Linked DNA regions of Homo sapiens: all the other regions are linked to region 1. Evidence: promoter capture Hi-C in 16 types of primary human blood cells and fetal thymus (Javierre and others, 2016). All regions are on one chromosome and are shown on one strand. Each heading gives the region's core, a stretch centred on a gene start or on the middle of the fragment in contact. The rest is flanking DNA. Distances are from core to core; before and after follow the strand shown.

Evidence for each region. Contacts are between HindIII fragments. The CHiCAGO score rates a contact against its expected background, and 5 or more counts as called.
Region 2: a contact is called between a fragment that was not itself captured here and the fragment with the promoter of SLC30A7 in region 1, in 1 of 17 cell types (total B cells). The highest score is 9.0, in total B cells.
Region 3: a fragment that was not itself captured here is called in contact with the fragment with the promoter of SLC30A7 in region 1 in 1 of 17 cell types (activated CD4 T cells); the score reaches 5.9 in activated CD4 T cells.
Region 4: a fragment that was not itself captured here is called in contact with the fragment with the promoter of SLC30A7 in region 1 in 9 of 17 cell types (naive CD8 T cells, total CD8 T cells, neutrophils and 6 more); the score reaches 8.4 in naive CD8 T cells.
Region 5: a contact is called between a fragment that was not itself captured here and the fragment with the promoter of SLC30A7 in region 1, in 10 of 17 cell types (monocytes, erythroblasts, megakaryocytes and 7 more). The highest score is 11.6, in monocytes.
Region 6: a contact is called between a fragment that was not itself captured here and the fragment with the promoter of SLC30A7 in region 1, in 1 of 17 cell types (erythroblasts). The highest score is 5.7, in erythroblasts.
Region 7: a contact is called between a fragment that was not itself captured here and the fragment with the promoter of SLC30A7 in region 1, in 2 of 17 cell types (monocytes and megakaryocytes). The highest score is 7.0, in monocytes.

The regions. Positions count from the first base shown.
Region 1 is chr1:100,894,788-100,897,365 of GRCh38, reverse strand. SLC30A7 (solute carrier family 30 member 7) reads right to left here and starts at 1,276. Exons shown (of 11, transcript NM_133496.5): 1 at 1,024-1,276; 2 at 695-796. The coding sequence starts at 1,103. It overlaps EXTL2 (exostosin like glycosyltransferase 2), which reads left to right and starts at 2,524. Exons shown (of 5, transcript NM_001033025.3): 1 at 2,524-2,578. RefSeq lists enhancers at 772-931, 982-1,231, 1,782-1,851, 1,746-2,468, 2,469-2,578. The HindIII fragment of the contact is 2,158 bases long and covers 1-2,024 here.
Region 2 is chr1:101,397,242-101,399,819 of GRCh38, reverse strand. No RefSeq gene overlaps it. Among named protein-coding and RNA genes, the nearest start is that of LINC01307, 75 kb to the right of the region's middle. The HindIII fragment of the contact is 1,162 bases long and covers 721-1,882 here.
Region 3 is chr1:100,418,147-100,420,724 of GRCh38, reverse strand. All of the region lies in intron 4 of CDC14A (cell division cycle 14A), which reads right to left. It overlaps LOC105379827 (a long non-coding RNA gene), which reads left to right. Exons shown (of 3, transcript XR_007066254.1): 2 at 2,135-2,578. Among named protein-coding and RNA genes, the nearest start is that of CDC14A, 67 kb to the right of the region's middle. The HindIII fragment of the contact is 2,942 bases long and covers 1-2,578 here.
Region 4 is chr1:100,441,044-100,443,621 of GRCh38, reverse strand. CDC14A (cell division cycle 14A) reads right to left here. Exons shown (of 16, transcript NM_003672.4): 7 at 626-688. Among named protein-coding and RNA genes, the nearest start is that of CDC14A, 90 kb to the right of the region's middle. The HindIII fragment of the contact is 5,917 bases long and covers 1-2,578 here.
Region 5 is chr1:100,459,122-100,461,699 of GRCh38, reverse strand. The region is part of intron 8 of CDC14A (cell division cycle 14A); the gene reads right to left. Among named protein-coding and RNA genes, the nearest start is that of GPR88, 78 kb to the left of the region's middle. The HindIII fragment of the contact is 3,674 bases long and covers 1-2,578 here.
Region 6 is chr1:100,476,666-100,479,243 of GRCh38, reverse strand. The region is part of intron 10 of CDC14A (cell division cycle 14A); the gene reads right to left. Among named protein-coding and RNA genes, the nearest start is that of GPR88, 60 kb to the left of the region's middle. The HindIII fragment of the contact is 1,027 bases long and covers 771-1,797 here.
Region 7 is chr1:100,511,763-100,514,340 of GRCh38, reverse strand. All of the region lies in intron 15 of CDC14A (cell division cycle 14A), which reads right to left. Among named protein-coding and RNA genes, the nearest start is that of GPR88, 25 kb to the left of the region's middle. The HindIII fragment of the contact is 1,643 bases long and covers 452-2,094 here.

The DNA.
Region 1 (2,578 bases), core at 27-2,526:
GCAAATACCTGAATAATAGTAACTTCACTGCCACAGAGTTACACACTAGATTTTCCTCCTCCTAAGGATGTTTCAAAAAAAACAAAAACCCTCAAAGGTGCCACCAAAACCCAAGAAATGTTGTTTCTAGAAACTATATGGGATTTTTACATCGCAGTTAAGACTACAGGAAAATCATGAGACAGTTTCGGCATTAAAGAGAGAAGAGAATGACACATATTCCTCCCGATATCACTTTATAAAACCTCCCATTCCAAGCCCCAATAACAAACTAAGTAGAACATCTCAGATATACTCTCTCAGAATCTTAAGGGTGAAATCCAAATGCCACTCCCCCCCGAGAGAGGCAGCAAACAAGTTTCTCCCAATTCCAACAAAGTGGGTAAACCTAAGGCCTACAATTAGAAATGAAAGATTCTGCCCATCTGCTAAAATAAGGAGGGGCTTGTCAGTCTTGTCTGATGGAACTGGAGGGGAGCGTGACAAGAGAGGTTGCACAGGATAGGCCCAGATCTTACTCAAGAACTGTAGCCCTACCAGATTGGTGTGGGTATGAGAAAGCAACTCAGCAGCAGAGGTAGGTAACAAAGGTAGGACCTGAACCTCCTAGTGAGGAGCTACGTGGCATTAAGCAAACAGTGCTTCGTCTCCCTCACACCCAGCTTCCGCCCAAACCATTTTCCCCTTTGGTTACCAGTTGCTCCAGATGCCGTAGAGTAGTTCCACAAAAGCGAAAGAGAGGTTCAGGCACAGGAAGAAAAACAGGTTCCGGGAAGTCTTGTCGGACAGTATAGACCTGGGAATGATACACGTGGAAAAGAGCCGGGAGAGTTAAGGAGGTGCCGGGACCCCGAGGCTGGGTACCCTCTTCAAGACCCTCCCAGTTCACATGCTCCTTTCTTCACAGCTAGGGGTTGACGGGGAGTTTTTGACTCTCCCTCACTGGACCTCGGGCCATCCTGAGGTCTGGGCCTTCTCCCTTTCTGCCGGACACCCCCTCCCCGCAAACACAGCACCCCGCACCTAAACCAGCCCGAGATCTTGCCGAACAAATTGAACTTGGGTGGTTTGTATTCATCGTCTTTGATGGACAGGGGCAACATCTTCTCTGCCCGGCGAAGGGCCGGGTCTACTCCCCTCTAGAAGTGGCTCCGTGGGGTGATGGCAGTGACAGTAGTGACGCCTCAAACGGGAATCCCCAGCGCTTGTCCGGGGCCGCGCGCCGCTGCGAGACACAGACAGACACAGACACACACCCGGGAATTCGCTTACTTCCGGCCCGGGCCGCGCAACGCGTCCTGGGACAGGAAAGGAGGGAGGCCGGTCGCGGGCGGGGCCTGCGCGGCGGAGGGCGTGGCTTGCGGCGGGGGCGGGATGAGAAAGGTGCTGGAGCTGTTGGAGGGACGCCAGGAGGTGGCAACTACCAGGGGGTGTGAGGGGCTGACCTGGGATGGAATCCTGCCACCCGGACTCAGGAAGAAAATCCTGAGGTGGCGACCTGCAGACTGGGCTGGGAGATGGAGAGCCCGCTCACGCCCACCCGACCGCCTACCACCAGTGTTCCCGGATGCATGGGCTCCAGCGCCTGCCCTTTCGCCATTTCCTCCCAACTGGCATTAAATCCTGGTGTGGTAGATATCAGTGATTAAGAGTCTAGGCAGCCACGTGTTCTATTGCCGCCAGTCCGCAGGAAACGCAAGTGATCGTTTTGCTGCGTTAACTCTATGGGCGCCCAAATCTTAGGAATCCATTCCACGCCACCCCGAAAACAGCGCTTGACCCTTCTGGACTGCCACGCAGGAGGCGATCAATGTTTTTCTTTCTTTATTTTTTTAAGAGACAAGGTCTCGCCCTGTCACCTAGGCTGGAGCACAATGAGGCTCACTACAGCCTGGAACTCCCGGACGCAAGTGATCCTCCTCAGCCTCCGGAGTAGCTGAGACCTCAGGCGTGCGCCACCATGCCTGGCATCAATCAATGTCTTTCAAAATAAAGGCTGTTAAACGTAGTATAGGAAAGAAGCTTTTTAATGGTAGGTTCTACCAGACGTGTTTGTTTGATTTTTAGGTTTGGTTAATGCATTGTTTCCCGTACAATCTCAACCCGCGGAAACCCCGAAACTCTAGAATTCGTGCCGGTCTCTTTCGCTTCCAGGTCATCCCCGGGGCAACGGCCGCCGCTCTAATTCTTGTCAGAACCTCCAGGCCAGTTTCAGCAACGTGCAGGCAGAAGCTGGCCCCTCGGTGGGATGCGAGGGCGTGTGGAGCGCGGGGAGGAGAGCCCCACAGGCCTTTCCTGGGCACCCGCGGTGGATGGGAAGGCTCCTTCGGGCGCCTTTCAGGGAAGTTGTTTGGCTGAGGGAAGGTGGTCCGTCACGTGAATGTTTAAAAGTTGTTACCTTGGAGAAGAAATGGAGGAAAGGATTGGCTTTCGGAGGTGGGCTGGAAACTACAAAACCGAGCTTCCTGGGAATGCCTTTTAGGCCGACAGGAAGTGGAGCGTCACCGAAAGGGAGGGGCGGCCACTCGGGGACTGTCCCTTGCTCCAGGCGCTCACTTTGCGGGCGGCACTTTTTCCA
Region 2 (2,578 bases), core at 52-2,551, 500 kb before region 1:
CTCCACCTGGGCGACGTGAGTAAAACCCTGTCACAAAAAGAAAAGGAAAAAAGTCAAGGCTCAGAAAGAGAAATTATTCTGTGGTCAAACACACATAGGATGTAAACCCAGGTCTGTCTGGCTCAGAATTTACTCTTATTACATGAACGCCTCTCTAAAGAGCTAGATCCAGGCTTACACACAGAAAACTAAAGGGAAAACTAGCATTCATATACAAATTCCTTTCAAGCTCTATTATTCATATTTCCCCAATCTAACTTTGTACTTTAATTAAATACTGAATTTGATGGATAGGTTCTGTGTAAGTCTCATTGCTAAGGAACTCTGAACAAAGAAAACAGGTCAGCGTATTTTAACAGTTCCGTTTTGAGCAATGTTGGTGACAAAGGAAAAAAATCAATAGAGAAAACTGTGCATTAGGAAAGAAACACTGGGCTAATGGTAAATCAAAATGTTTTGAGCAAAAGCCAGACAAAACTGGATTCTACTTATGCCTTTCCACCATTTAATTCTTCAAAATCCTTGAATTTTTTCAAGGGGAAATAATATGCACTGGTTTGAATGAGAGAGAGAACAGATGTAAACCGTGTCTTGTAAATTTGAGTTTGTACCCAAGAACTTTAGTTCCCACATCCTTACCTGCAGCCTTTGTGATTTGTGCTGTGAGAGTGCAAATATGTCCAGCAAGAAGGAAATAGCTCTCAGCTTGCAAAAAAAGCTTCTAGAGGGAGGTTCCAGAGAACTGAAATGATGAGGCTGGCATGTGAGAAAGGCTACAATCATCACAGAGTTTTTGAAGTGCCCCAGGAATTTGATGGGTGTCTGAACTAGGGGGCAGAACACTGATTTCATTTTCATTGCTTTACAGTGACACTCTGTAATGTGATGTGGTGTGTGTGAACGATTGCATGTGTGATTTTGTGTGTGATATGGTGTGCATGTGTGTGTGATTGTATGTATATAATGTGGTATATGTGTGATTAAGGCTTGTGATTATGTGTGTGTAAATATATTGAGGATCTATATCAGAGAGAGAAATCAATTACCCCTGTGCTTAGGTAGGGGAATAGACTGCAGCTAAAGATTCAACAACACCCAGCAATGTACTGATGAGTGTGAGCAAAGCAGGAGTCCTAAAGCCAAATGATACAATGTTTTACCGCAGAAAACACAACTAGGCTTGATTTAAAAAAAAAAAATTTACATAATTTATAGCAAAATGAGATATTGGTCTTTGTCTATCAATTTCGCAAAAGTTAAAAAAATTGGTAATAGCCAGTGTGGGCAAGATGTGGGAGACTTGACATTAGTGTACATATCTGGTGGCAGTGTATTTAGTACACTGCTGGAGGGCCATTGGCAATATGTTCAACATAAATTATACTCAATATTTGATCCAGCAATTCCATGTTGTTGGAATTTATCATAGGAAATAAAAGGGTAAGTGTGGAAAGATGTAAGTGAAAAGACACTCCTTGCAGCACCATGTGTAACAGGAGCAATCTCATCAACGATAGTATTTATTTGTTGAATAAATAATAATACTTCTATTTGAAGGATGAGCTATAGTGCTGTAGGTAATGATCCAGAAAGATGTCTAATATATTCACAGTGTTAAGGCAAAAGATAACCTTGCCATATGTTTTTGTTTCAAAAAAATAAAATTGTGTTAACATTTATAGAAAATATTTGGAATGATTAATAACAAAATATTAACAGTGGGTTATGACTGAAGGGGATGACATTGGGGATAGGGAGAGAATTTTACTTTCTATTCTATACATAATTATTTTTTTCCAAAAAAAGCATATATTATGTCTATACTTGTGAGGAAATAACAGTAAGGATGTTTCTATTTAGAAATGAAGGAAGAAAGGAAGCTTTTGCAAATACCTATGGTAGAGCAGACTCAGTTTATATCTCTCCATTTCTGACCTGAGGCTATGGCCAAATTTCCAACCAACTAAAAATTCAAATAACCAGATTTCTAAATCTGTTTTCCCATTGATTCATAGCCTGTTATTTCCTGTGCAGCCTGTGTATCTGCAGCCATCTGGGCAAAACAGAGCTGCTGCAGTAGACAAGCAAGGTAAGTCCTTCCCCAAGAGCCCACCTTGTGCTTGTGATAGACACAGGAAAAAGGAGAGCTTTGGTCGTAGAGGGCCTTATAGATGGTTTAATTTTTTGGATAGTAAAAATGAAAGCAAGGACTACCTATGCTCTTACAACCAAACAATCAAAAGACATTATTAAGAAGTCATGCTATTTAGCATAGAAATGTACAGACCACATTTTTATACATAGCAATAATATTTAGATTTTAAAGTGTATGTTGAATAATAAAAAAAAGTACCTACTTTCAACAATGCTGCAGTTCTATTCAATTGTTTTGGACTTTTCTGCCTGTGACTTGCTGAAATAGAGCCTTTCGTCATTCATAGCATGTCTTCTCATAAAATACCATACTTCTCCTCTGTGCAAAAACATAGCTTCCATTACAAGGGAAAAGGCACGTTAAATCTTACAAACCATAAAAAATTTCATTTTGTGTCACATTTTTAAAATGTATTGTGAATTT
Region 3 (2,578 bases), core at 59-2,558, 480 kb after region 1:
TAGGTACCACCATGTACTACCATTCATTCTTTTTAAACACACATTTACTTTTGACTTAAATCAATTTGATGTAAAATGTTTTATATCATTGCTATAAATGGGAAAACCCGCCACTGAGTCTATACATAAATGAATATTAAAATGCATAACTCTTATAATTTTAAATATTTGTGTTTACTACACCGTGAGAAACAATGTAACAAATATCAAGTCTGTACTAATTTTATAGAGGAACACCAGACCAACATGAGAAGTTATATAGAATCCTCTTAGAATTCATCTGCAAATACTTCTAAATCATTTTTTTAAACTAAATCCTGCAGTCATTAAATCCTTAATACCTGCTCCAAAATAATATGTGAATTTCTGAAGCATTTTGGAATTTACAACTGTATTTCTCTACTCAGATAATTCAACCTCTCTGATACACAAGGGGAGATTCTTAAAACAATAAATGGCTTCATAGAGAAGTCTCAACCAGACTCTGGGTCATGAATTTGCTAATGATCTTTCTCTGGGGACATTTGCCTCAAACTTTACTATGTTTTTAGCTTTGTTTTTAGGTGCTATTTTTCCTCCAAAAAAAAAAAAAAAAAAAAAAAAACCTTTTCAGCAAAGCATAACACACACACACATACACACTATATATATATATATATATGTGTGTGTGTGTGTGTGTGTGTGTGTGTGTGTATATATGTATATATATATGTATATATATATATATTTAAAAGTGAAATCTGTGCCCCTACATTAATTATATTTATATTTTGTGACTTGGAAAGTGAAAATACTCTTGAGGATTCAATTTGGCCATCTGAAAGAGTATTCTTCAATTTTATTTGTTTAATATTTTACTTGTGTGAAAAAGAGGAAACAAATGCTGACAATAGCCTTTCCCAGGTAGGTGCTGCCACTGGAACATTGGCACGATAGCTTTGAAATTAACATTTCAACCATGTCTTAGTCAATTAAATTCCTTCAAAATACAATTTCCAGAAAACTGATGTTACAACTTTAAAATAGTCTTAAAGCACTATGATTTACCAAATGTGGAAGACTTATGCCAAAAAAGGAGAGACTCCATTTACAAGTTTCAGACAACTAGGTTTAGAATACACAGAATACTAACTGTGGACATTACAAAGACATCACTATGATGTGTGCTTTGGGCTGAAGCCCATTAATCAGCAGAAATGCTGAGTCCTTTCCTTAGCACTGTGTAACTTACAATTATCATGCTTGCAAAACTGCAATTGAGGATGGGGGTGGGCAGATATAAGAAGAAAATGTTTCTTTTACTGGTGAAGCTAACCAGTGCAGAGCACTCACTTGGCTTGAAACTACCGCACCCTAACTGGCTGCTCCCAACATCCCCCTTTCTCATGAGGGGTTCCTCCCAGTCAGCCAGACCCAGAATCTCAAAAGTCATCTTTGACCTTGGCCTCTCCATCACGTGATAGCCACATCAAGTCAATACCCAGACTGATTATCTCTTCACAGTCACAGTCAGTCTCTCTCTTTTTATTTATTTTATTTTAGACAGGTTCTGGCTCTGTCACACAGGCTGGAGTGCAGTGGCACAATCTCAGCTCACTACAACCTCCACCCCCAAGGCTCAAGCCATCCTCCCACCTCAGCCTCCCAAGTAGCTAGGACTACAGGTACACACCACCACATTCAGCTACTTTTTTGTATTTTTCGTAGAGACAGGCCTTCACCATGTTGGCCAGGCTGGTCTCAAACTCCTGGCTTCAAGTGATCCACCCGCCTCAGCCTCCCAAAGTGCTGGGATTACAGGCGTGAGCTACCACTCCTGGCCATCCACAGTCTCTTTCAATTATGGGGTAGATCCAGGTTTGGGAGCCTGAAACACATCATTTGGGGAGCAAAGACGGAGGATACAAACATCTTTTCATATTTTACAAAAAATTTTCCCTTCAACAGCTTGAGAGACGGAACTAAGCAAGAAAAGGCCCTGAGTCTTAAATTTCATTAGTTCCGCAGTGAACTACCTGGACCTTTCTTCCATGACAATCATCATCACGTTATTTCAAACCCTTATCCAAACCCTTATCACCGTACTCTAGGACTAACACCATTTCTCTCTGCCTCCACCTCCTGCCTACTCCAGTAGTTCCAGAGCAGGGCTCGGAAAGTCTCAACCCTGCTCAAAAAGCCCAGTCCAGACTGCCAACCCTTCACCAAGATATCGTCCCAGCCTGCCTTTTCAGGTAAATTTGTCATTTTTCCTCAAATGAACCCTACCCGCTAGCCTGGACTCCTCACCCTTCCCTAAACATACCTGATATCTCTGGTATTTGAGGTTGTTGTTGTTTTTCTGGAATACTTTCCTCACCATTTCTACCTATTAGACCTATATTTCATTAGACCTAAACTCAAATACTATGTCCCATGATGCCTTTCTTCTCCAACTCAGAACCTTTTCCCTTACCCTTTAGACTCCAGAATATGACACTCAACTATAGGTGATAATGATCACAATAATGACAACAATAAAAACAAAAAGTTAACAGTATATACCATGTGCCAGGCACTCTTCTAGGCATTGTACATA
Region 4 (2,578 bases), core at 44-2,543, 450 kb after region 1:
GGCTCATGCCTGTAATCCCAGCACTTTGGGAGGCCGAGGCAAGAGGATCACTTGAGCTCAGGAGTTCAAGACCAGCCTGGGCAACATGGTGAAATCCTGTCTTTAAAAAAAAAAAAAAATTAGCCAGACATGGTGGCATGCACCTGTAATTCCAGCTGCTTGGGAGGCTGAGGTGGGAGGATAGCTTGAGCCTGGGGAGGCAGAGGTTGCAGTGATCCGAGATTGTGCCACTGCATTTCAGCCTGGACAAAAGAGCTAGACACCGCCTCAAAAATAAATAAATAAAAGGTACAAATTCAGTTTTATTTTAAATAAAACCTGATTTCTAAAATAAAAGTAACATAATTTTACTACCCTACTAGATTTTTCTTATAAACTAAAGGTGCAAAGTGATTGTATATAAATGAGAGAATATATATAGATATGTTGTTTTTCCAAAATAAAATTTTGGTGACTCCTGATTCAAAGGAAATAACCAAGGCTGAAAGGACAAAACTGACCACTATGGAAAACTCCAGAATGCTTTTATTTAGCACCCACTCGATTTGCAATACATGAGTGTGACAGGGGGAAAAAATTAATCAACATGAAATTATGTTTTGTAAAAAAAATTAAATGTACAAACCTCATAATGTTCATATTCATCCACATCAAATGTCTCAAAGTCAAAAAATCCATGTTGTAATCCCTAAAAGCAGAATTTGAATTAGTTTTTCCATGCTAAATTGATAAACTCTACTCATCATTTCTGGAACTCCTACTTACAGAAATGATCCTCACTAATCTGAAGAGACAGCTTGAAACCTTTGATGTTTAATGCATATCTAGAAATCTTTTTATAAAACTGGTTATATTGCATTAAGACTGTCTTACTGGAACTAAAAAAACACTTAGAATAACATGAAAAAGCCCCACAAAAGATGCCTTGATTTCTAATTTACATCAGTTTTGTATGTAAAATTATATGTATACAAAATGAAATAAAACAAATTTATAGTTAGAACCTGTTGGGAACTAGACCTAACTATGACAGAATAGATCATAGTGATTAACTTCTTTGTTAGGAGAAGAAAAATCAATTATTCTTATGAGTTTTTGTCTTCCTTTTATCATAGGGAGATATTTAGCCCCCCAAAAAAACCCTGCATCTTTTACTGTTTTTTCTTCCTTAATATTTCTACTTAATAGGTCCTTAATAATATTTGATGAGAGAATATATATATTTATATATAATATATAGTATATATTTATATATACTATATATAATATAGTATATTTATATATAATACATAATATAGTATATTTATATATACAATACATAATATATATGTAATATTTCTTAATATTTCTACTTAATAGGCCCTTATTTGTTCCTAAAACTCTACCTTGGGAGAATCTGTTTCATGAGATAGTTTCTGACAAAGTAGAATTATACTTGACTGCTCTTACAATTTAAAAAAAAAAACATATTTTTATCACAAAGTAAAAGTCATACTCAGTTTTGTAAACAATGACTTAGAACTTTTAAAAACTATCCAGCTAGCTCAGATCTAATATTTTAAAGAGAACAGAATCTTTTATTTTATAAATCATGAAGCTATACAGATTACAACAGAATACAAAACCACAGGTACATTTAAAAGTTACATGATCAAGTCATTAAAAATAGAAAAAGAAACTAGCAAGCCAAGCTCCAGTACATCTATCAGTGTTTTTTCAAAACACAGAACATGCGCCATCAGCATCAGAAACACTTAGGGTAATTCATATGAAAGAAGCAGACTCCTGGGCCCCACCCCAGAACTATCAAATCATATTTGCTGTGGTTGGGGCCCAGGATCACCATTTTCAGCATAGCTTCCCAGGTGATTCTTAGAAATGCAAAATTCTGATAACACTGGTTTAAACAACCCCTACAGAATAAGCAGAACAAATTATTTAAATTAGTCCATTCTAAAAAAAAAAAAAAAACTGAGTTCATCCATATGCACCTTTCCAGACAAAAAAGTGAGAAAAATATACAAACTCTCTGAAGGATTCACTTTTTTTTCCTCTGTATTTTCAAAGGGTTTGCTTATATCCATGTATAGTAGTTCACATAACATGGAATATAAACTATACTTATGACAATGCCAATACATTAAAATCAGAGAAATGTGCTCCCTAAAAAGGCAAAAATGTGGCCATACTCTGTATAGGTTCTTGGAATGGTACTACTCGTTGCCACACAAAAATAGCCCAGAATATGGTGCCTTATGTAAGAGAATGAACTTACAGGAAATGTCTCAGGTGCTTAAAGACATGCTGCACAATCTATCAGATCCTCCAAAATCTCATTTGTCTTTGAGTTAACCCCAACATTTGATGAAACAAGTTTACATACCTTTCCTCTACAACAGGAAGGATGCCACAACTTTCTATACTGAGTTACTAATTACCATAATTACAGGCAGCGATATTCCAGTGTGAACTTTCTAAATTTTTTAAGTGTTATAAAACAAATGGCCTGTAGCAGATGGTAGAAAAGGCAAAATAATAATAGTGACGATAAATAAATTATTTTTTCCCTCAGGCATAT
Region 5 (2,578 bases), core at 41-2,540, 440 kb after region 1:
TGAGTATTCCTGGGAGCTACACAGTCAGCTGGGTTACAGACCTAGCCTTAGCTAATCAGCCAAGGCAACCACTGGGGGCTTTGGCCTTTGCAGGCCTTGCAATGGCAGCTCCAAAAGTTCAGGGGACTAAGTTCCCAGCACACTGATGGCCACATCTGTAACCCATTCAGAATTCACTGAACCCTAACATACCAGCTGAGTGCAATTATCTCAGTTGGAACCCATTCATGATGGGAGGTTCCAGGGGTGGCGGCAGCCAGCAAAGTGAACCAGACTGTTTCCACGCTGTGTGCTTGGCTGTATTTCTTGCTGCCTTGGATCCCTGTTATGCTAGTCAGCTCTCAGCTCCAAGCCGACTCTTATGCTCTGTGACACTGGGGCTGGAGTCCATATACTACGCCCTACATTTCCCAGACTACCTTTCTATCTGGCTTCCTATTGGTTGTAAAAATGGGAGGCACTAAACCTCAACCTGAGGAGGAGGAAGGGAATTCTTCCTGTCCTCCTGGCAGCATCACTTCAGCAGCAGAAAACAGGAGCAGGTTCTGCTAACTCCACTTTTGTCCCTTTTGTCCCCCCAGCCTTAAAGGTACTAGCTGTTTTCTCCAACATATTCTGGTTTCTTCAGTGTTGCCTTTTTACTTTTTAGTCTTCTTTGAAATAAACTCCTTGTATTAAATGCTTTATGTTTGAAATGCCTAGTGTGGTTCCCATTTTCCCACTTGGGTCCTGTTCATCTTCTAAGCCTAGTTCTCCAGCCTTTTCTTAAAGTCTATGAGCTACCCAACATATTCCAAAAACTGCCTTTTACCAGAGTTGGACAGCCATAACTGGTACACTTGGCCAGGTCACACAAAGGATGAAGACAGAATTGGAAGGCAGGACCAATTAATCCACAGCTCAGATATGTGATTTTCACAGGCTATGTTGCTTTTGAGCAAACAGGTAAAACAGAGCTTATTTAAAATCTTCTGTGTAGAAACAATAACCTACACAAACATGGAGAAAACATGCTTTTCTAACTGCAAAAATCAAGTCTGTTTTCCTAGTTGGTTTACTTGCTCAAATTATTTCCCTGCAACAGATTTATAGCCTAAAGCAAAAAAAGAACTGTAGTTGGCATTAAGAAGTAACGGTTTTTCTATCATGTGAGGAATGGGGAGGAGAAGGGCTCATAAACACCTGGGCAGCCTGCCCTGGTGTGGCGGGCTGGTGAGAGCTTCTGCCTCTGGGTTGCTAGCATGCCTGGGACCTCCATGACAGCACCTGTCACACGTTGTGTTAGCAATTGGTTCAGTGCCTATCCCCTTCCTCCCTGCAACAAAGGCTGCAAGAATCTCTCTTTTCATATATGAATTTCCATCATGAGTAAATGGCAGCATAGCTAACATGCCTAAATAGACTATTAAGAGAAACGATGTATACATCTTTTGAGAAGAAAACACTGGACAGAAATTGTCCAAATATGGCAACAGGGCACTGAAATAATAATAACAACAATAATTGCACCTAACGTTTATCAAGCACTTACTATATGCTAGCCACTATGCTAAGTGCTTTATGTGGATTATCTCATTAAAACCTACAATTACTCAATTTCTGGTGCCTGGAAAAGCTGGCCCGTACACATACAGCTAGTAAGAGGTAGAGCCAGTATTTCAATCCTGGCAGTCAGATTCCAACACCCATGCTGGGGCTAATTTCAAGTAAGATTCAACTTGATTCTATCTGTTAAGACTCCAAATAAGAGAACATGATATGAACATGAGCGGTTAGAATTGGTGAGTAGGTTTTATAAAAATCCTTAAAACTGTTTAGAATAAATTATAACGAACAATGGAAATGTCCTATGACCTGTGAACAACTGTTTGTGGCTTTTACGGATGTACGTGAGTGCTTTTTGCGAGAGATTGGTTTTAGCAATGTGTATAATGTGCCGACCCAGAACTTATGGAGCCTTCATCCGACCCTTACTCCATCTGGCCACAAGATGGTGCGCTGGCATCACTGAACCACAACAAAGTCCTGGAGTTAAGCTGACCAAACACATGAACACGGTATCAGAGTCAAAAGAGATGTTTTTATTCATCTCTTCCCAGGCCCTCATTTTAAAGTTCGAAAACTGAAGAACAGCAGAGTCAAATGACTAGTTCACTCAGTCATTATTAAAAGTAAAAACTGCAAACTGAGCAGGCAAATGTAGAAAGACATAAAATCTGTTGATTAGGCCAGCTAATGATAAAAATGTAACCATAATACCTGCTATCTAATAAACGCCTATTATGTGTGCCCAATACTCTGCAAGGCACTTCACATAACATCTCTAATCCTCACTAGGTGCCTGCAGTGAGGATCATATTTCTCCCACTGTGATATATAGGAAAACTGATGCTCAGAGAAGCTGTGGAACTCACTGAAGTTCACGCAGCCAAAAAGGAATGGAGCCAGGCTTCAACCTGCCCAGGCTCTTTACTAAACGGGACACTGGGCTTCTCTCATTAAAGGAGCAGGCTGATGCCTCAAATGGTCGGGATTCTCAGTCTGAAGCTATCTTTCTCTCTCTCTCTCTCTCTGTGTG
Region 6 (2,578 bases), core at 35-2,534, 420 kb after region 1:
AATCTCAACTAAAACTCAAACCATTAGTGTTAGACTTTTTCAAGCATTTTCCATTTTCTAAACAGATGTTTTTCATCTTATTTTTGCTAATTCCTGAAATAAAAAAGCAATGGTTTAACTATTAATTTCTGATCTAGCTCAATCCAATTGTGAAACTTACGAAATACTATTGGCACCAAATTAAGATGTAGCCTAAGTTGATATTTACAGAGTAAGGATGAGCCAAACACCCTTGTTATTGAATATGGTTCAGGGACCAGCAGCAGCACACCACCTGGGAGCCTGTTAGAAATGCACACTCTCAGGTCTCACCTCAGACCTGCTGAATCAGAGACTGCACTGAACAAGATCCCCCAACAATTCCTAGGCATTTTCATGTTTGAGAAGCACTGAAGACAATGGAAGGCTTGCAACAAAGTTAGAATTCTGAAAATATCCAACTCAGTAGAAGCTGATGAAAACATCTATTGTAATAAAGTAGAACAGGGGAATTTTTGGTTTATGGATTTAAGAATGAAAAAGAGTTCAACCATAATACTGTGCTTCATAAAGATAACCTCATTCAAAATGGAAGCTCTGCTTTACAGAGCCAAAACTTCCTGCAAGAGCCAGATTTAGGCTTTATGTGAGTTCTCTCTGTCTCAGAAGGAAATGTAAAACAAAAACAATGCCATATTGAGCCCCATAAATAAAGGATCTCCGTGAGCTGAAAATCCCCGTGGGAGCCCCACACTAGTCCCTCAATGATCCCTTTATAATGAATGAAAGCTTTAACAGATGATGATCCCCGAGGTCACAGATAGATCTATCTGTGATATAGGTTATCTGTCACAGATAGATCTATCTATCTGTGATATAGGTTATCTATCACAGATAGATAATGATACCCAAGGTCAGGGGAACATTCACACAGCAAATGTTCAATAAATAGAATCAACCAAGTTGTAAAAGCAGCCTGACTCCACCTTTATACTTCTAAAGGTTGTCTCGGAGGACATTGAGTCCAGAGTTGGCTCAAAAACAAAAAGATGTATTTTTACATCATTTTAAGAACCTTGAGGATGTTTGATAGAAGACACATTTGGGATTCAGAATGGTATTTTTGGTTTAAGAACTTCAGCTTTAAATAGAAGAAAAACACCTGATGGTTGTTTTGCAAATAGAGAGCTTTATATCCTTTAAAAGTTTAAATATAAAATTTCAGACTGTAACAAAGGAGAGGTCAGCCAATAAGTAAATTCATCAACAACTCAAAAGGATGCTAATAAACATCTCTCTTACTGCCAGTGAATAAGAGGGCTGCTTGTTTAAGACATGGCAATCAAGCACCTGGACATATTTTGGTCCTCAAGGACTAGGAGGATATGACAAACCAGCCTTTCTAAAGTCAGAGATTTGGAATTAACATTCTCTAAAAAGCACTGATTGACTTTTCACCTTTAAAAGAATACAATCACTTTAACTTGTTCAGTCATTTTTGACAGGTGAAAACCTAACAGAAAACGTTTTTACCCTCTTATTTCTTGCTTAATGAACACGTTACTTATTCATGCTTTTGCGTCATCATTGACTTCATACTCTTCATCTCTCTGATCATTAGTTAGTCTTCAAAGCCTTGTTTTTTTCTTTTTTCTTGAAATGTCCCTGGTACCCATCTCTAAATCTTCAGTCCAACTTCTATCCTCTTTTGATAAGTCCTTGTCTCTCTGAGATGGATGATAATAGCCTCCTTTTTAGCCTCTCTGATTCCAATCTCCATCCACCCAATTCATCTTACACATTGTTGCAACTCAAGCTTCCTTAAATAACACTTAAGTCACACGACTCCTCTATATGCTCTTATTCATCATACTTTCTAATTTGGAGTATTTGGAATTAAATACTCCAAATTAGAAAGTATGATGAATAAGAGAAGTTCAGAATATGCATGTTCATCACTAGGATCTGCATCTCCTGCTGTACATATTTGCTATCTATACAAAGCAGATGTATTAATTTCCTATGGATATTGTAAAGCATTACCGTAAATGTGGTGGTTTAAAAGAACACCAGTTTACTTTCTTACAGATCTGGAGTTGGAAGTCTGAAATCAGTTTCACTGAGCTAAAGCAGTGACAGTAGGCAGAGCTGGTTCCATATGGAGGCTTTGAGGAGATAATTTGTTTCCTTGCCTTTTTCAATTTACAGTGGCTGCCCATATTCCTTGGCTTATGGCTCCTTACTCCATCTTTAAAATGCATCAGTCCAATCTGTTTCAGTCATCACATCGGCTTCTCCTCTAAATGGCTCCCCCTGGGTCCCTCTTCTAAGGACACTGTGATTAATTGGGCCCACCCAAACAATCCGGGATAATCTCCCCACATCAACTTCCTTAACTTAATCACTTCTGCAAAGTCCCTTTTTCCATATACAGTAACATTCACAGCTGGTTCACAGGGATTAAAATATGCCTGTATTTGGGGAGACATTATTCAGACTGCCACAGCAGATTTCATGCCGAAAATTATAGGCAGACTAATTACCTTAAAATATAAGGCAATAACACCATTTCTGGAAAATAAAGTAGATGTACTTTTCC
Region 7 (2,578 bases), core at 24-2,523, 380 kb after region 1:
TAAAAGAAATTTTCATTATAAGAACATCCATGCTTAAGTATTATGAGTTGATTAAAGTTTTAATTCTGATTGGCCAATGTTTTTAGTTGTTACAATAATGAATTAATGAATCTGAAATACAAAATAAATTATAACAATGACAGTGAAGATGGTTATAAAGAAAGTGAAAATAATTTTTATACCTGAAGTACAAATATTATTTTAGAAGTTAGCCCTTGTTTATATAACCAAGAGATTTTAATTTCTCAAATATAATATTCAAGCTCATTTAATTAGTAAGCTCAACAGAGTTATAGTGAGTTAGGACCAGATCAAGTTTATTATGAATATGTGGTATTCTTATTGTATGAATACCATAAAATTAATAATGTAGCAATATTCAACCTGAAAAATAAGGATAAAATTGCCTTACATTTGCAGCCCCCAAAATTTTTATGTCAAAATATAAGCTTCCATCAAGAAGTCTTGTTCCCTGAAAGCAGTAAGATTTGACATAAAACAAAGTGTTAGGTAAGGAGATCAAGACAATTTGTTCTGTTCTGGAAATCTGCTACTAATCTGTTTTGGCAGATGTAGGTAGTAACTTTAAAATTTTAGCTATTCTGGAGGTGTTTCTTTTTTAAACAGCCCAGTTACCTAATCATGGCAGGAACATGTCTAATAATTACAGATATAAATATTGTACAGATGGTTAATAAATAAAACATGTTAGCTATCAAAAACAGCAAATTATAAAGAATAATGAAAGATTAAGGTCCTTGACAGCAAATGAATGTAACGATGTCTTAATGTTCAAATAACTTGAACCAAAGGATCCAATGGCCTGGAATGTTAGCATCCTACTAAGGTCAAAATCCTGATTCAAAATGTTCATGGACTTTTTTGCCACACTGACATTTTCTTTCCTACATTTTCCCCAGTCCTTTAAGGAATAAACAATAGTGTACTAGTTATCCCTGGTTTAAGTTCTAACCACAGAGGCAAAAAGAACCTAAAATAAAAATGGTTTGTTTTAATGTGATTGAAATTAAAGGAAAAAATACATGCTTGGCAACATGGTATTTTATATACATAACTATAGTGTTTTAAGTTTTAATGAACAAATACAACACTGGGGAAAAATAAATACACCCATAACTGCCTCTGTACTCCTATGTCTCTTTAAGCCTTTGTAATAGAGTTTCCAGTTTTTGTATTGCTCACAAATTAACACATAAAATGTGTGCATTGATACTTATTTCCATAACTGTGGTTTCACAATACTGAAAGTATTTTTTATTTTTTATTTCAATAGGTTTTGAGGTACAAGTGGTTTTTGGCTACATGGATGAATTGTATAGTGGTGAAGTCTGTGACTTTAGTGCACCTGTCACCCAAGTAGTGTATATTGTACCCAACATGTACAATACTGAAAGAATTTGCCTCTGTTAATATGATACATATTTCCTCCAATAACACTAGATGAAATGTAGCTGGGTATGGTTTTATTGGCATCATATTAAGATAAAAGGATGAAGGTTTGTGTTAAAATCAGGTTCGAAAGGTGTGTGTGCATTTTTCCATAGTGTTCTCTGTGCATTTCAGGGACTTCAAGACTTAAAAAGCCAATTTGGGCTCATTATAATGCTATATAAAATAGTCTTTCACCTTCCTACATGATTTTTAATAGATTCTTTTTTCTGGAGAAATTTAATATATGCTTTTCAACAATCACAAAGAGCTCAATTGTTAGATGACAGATTGTTGACACCCAGCTTGACTCAGCCAACCATTACATGAGTGTTTTCAGTTCATCTGAACACCAAAATTATATTGATGCAAACTCAGTTAAAATTTATTTTCTCTTATTTTAGTAAAGCCACATTTCTAGAAAAAAAATACACAACTCCCAGATTACCGTATATTAAAGCTAAAGCTGGAAACTTGTTTGTTTTCTGTTAGTGCTTCATATGCTAACAATGAGACCCAGGCTCCTAAACACTTTAACATTCACGAACCCAGATACATTATCTGACTTTTAGTTCAATAAGTATTTATTAGGCACTTATACTGTACTGTGGAACCTCAGGAAACAAGAGATGTTTCTGAGAAGCTTAAAGGAAAGCAGAGGAGAGAGAGAATCATGTATAACTGACTATAATATGAGAGTGTCAGCGCTCCTAGGAGAGTCGAGAAAGGAAGAGCCATTCTGTTTAGATGGGTCACAAATGCTTATCAAAAAGATAACTATCGAGCCAGGTCAAGAAATACAAAATCAAGCAGAGAAACAAGGGAAAGCAGAGTGGACTGCAAGTGCTAGGGTTCAGGCTTAAGGCAGGTCGTGCCAGGTAGAGCTGCTGGAGAGGAGGCTGGCAGGGAGGCACACAGCCCGACAGGGAAGAACCCTGAATGCCAAGCCAGGGGAGCCAGACTTGACCCAGTAGGCAGAGTGCAGCCACTGAACAAAGCCAAACATGAGAAGGATTTGATTAGCTCTGTGTCTCAGAAATTTAACACTGGCAACAGTATAGAGGAAAGATTAAAGGTAAGAGACAGGAAGACAGAAAGGGCTATGCGATAGTTCATGAAGACCCCAATT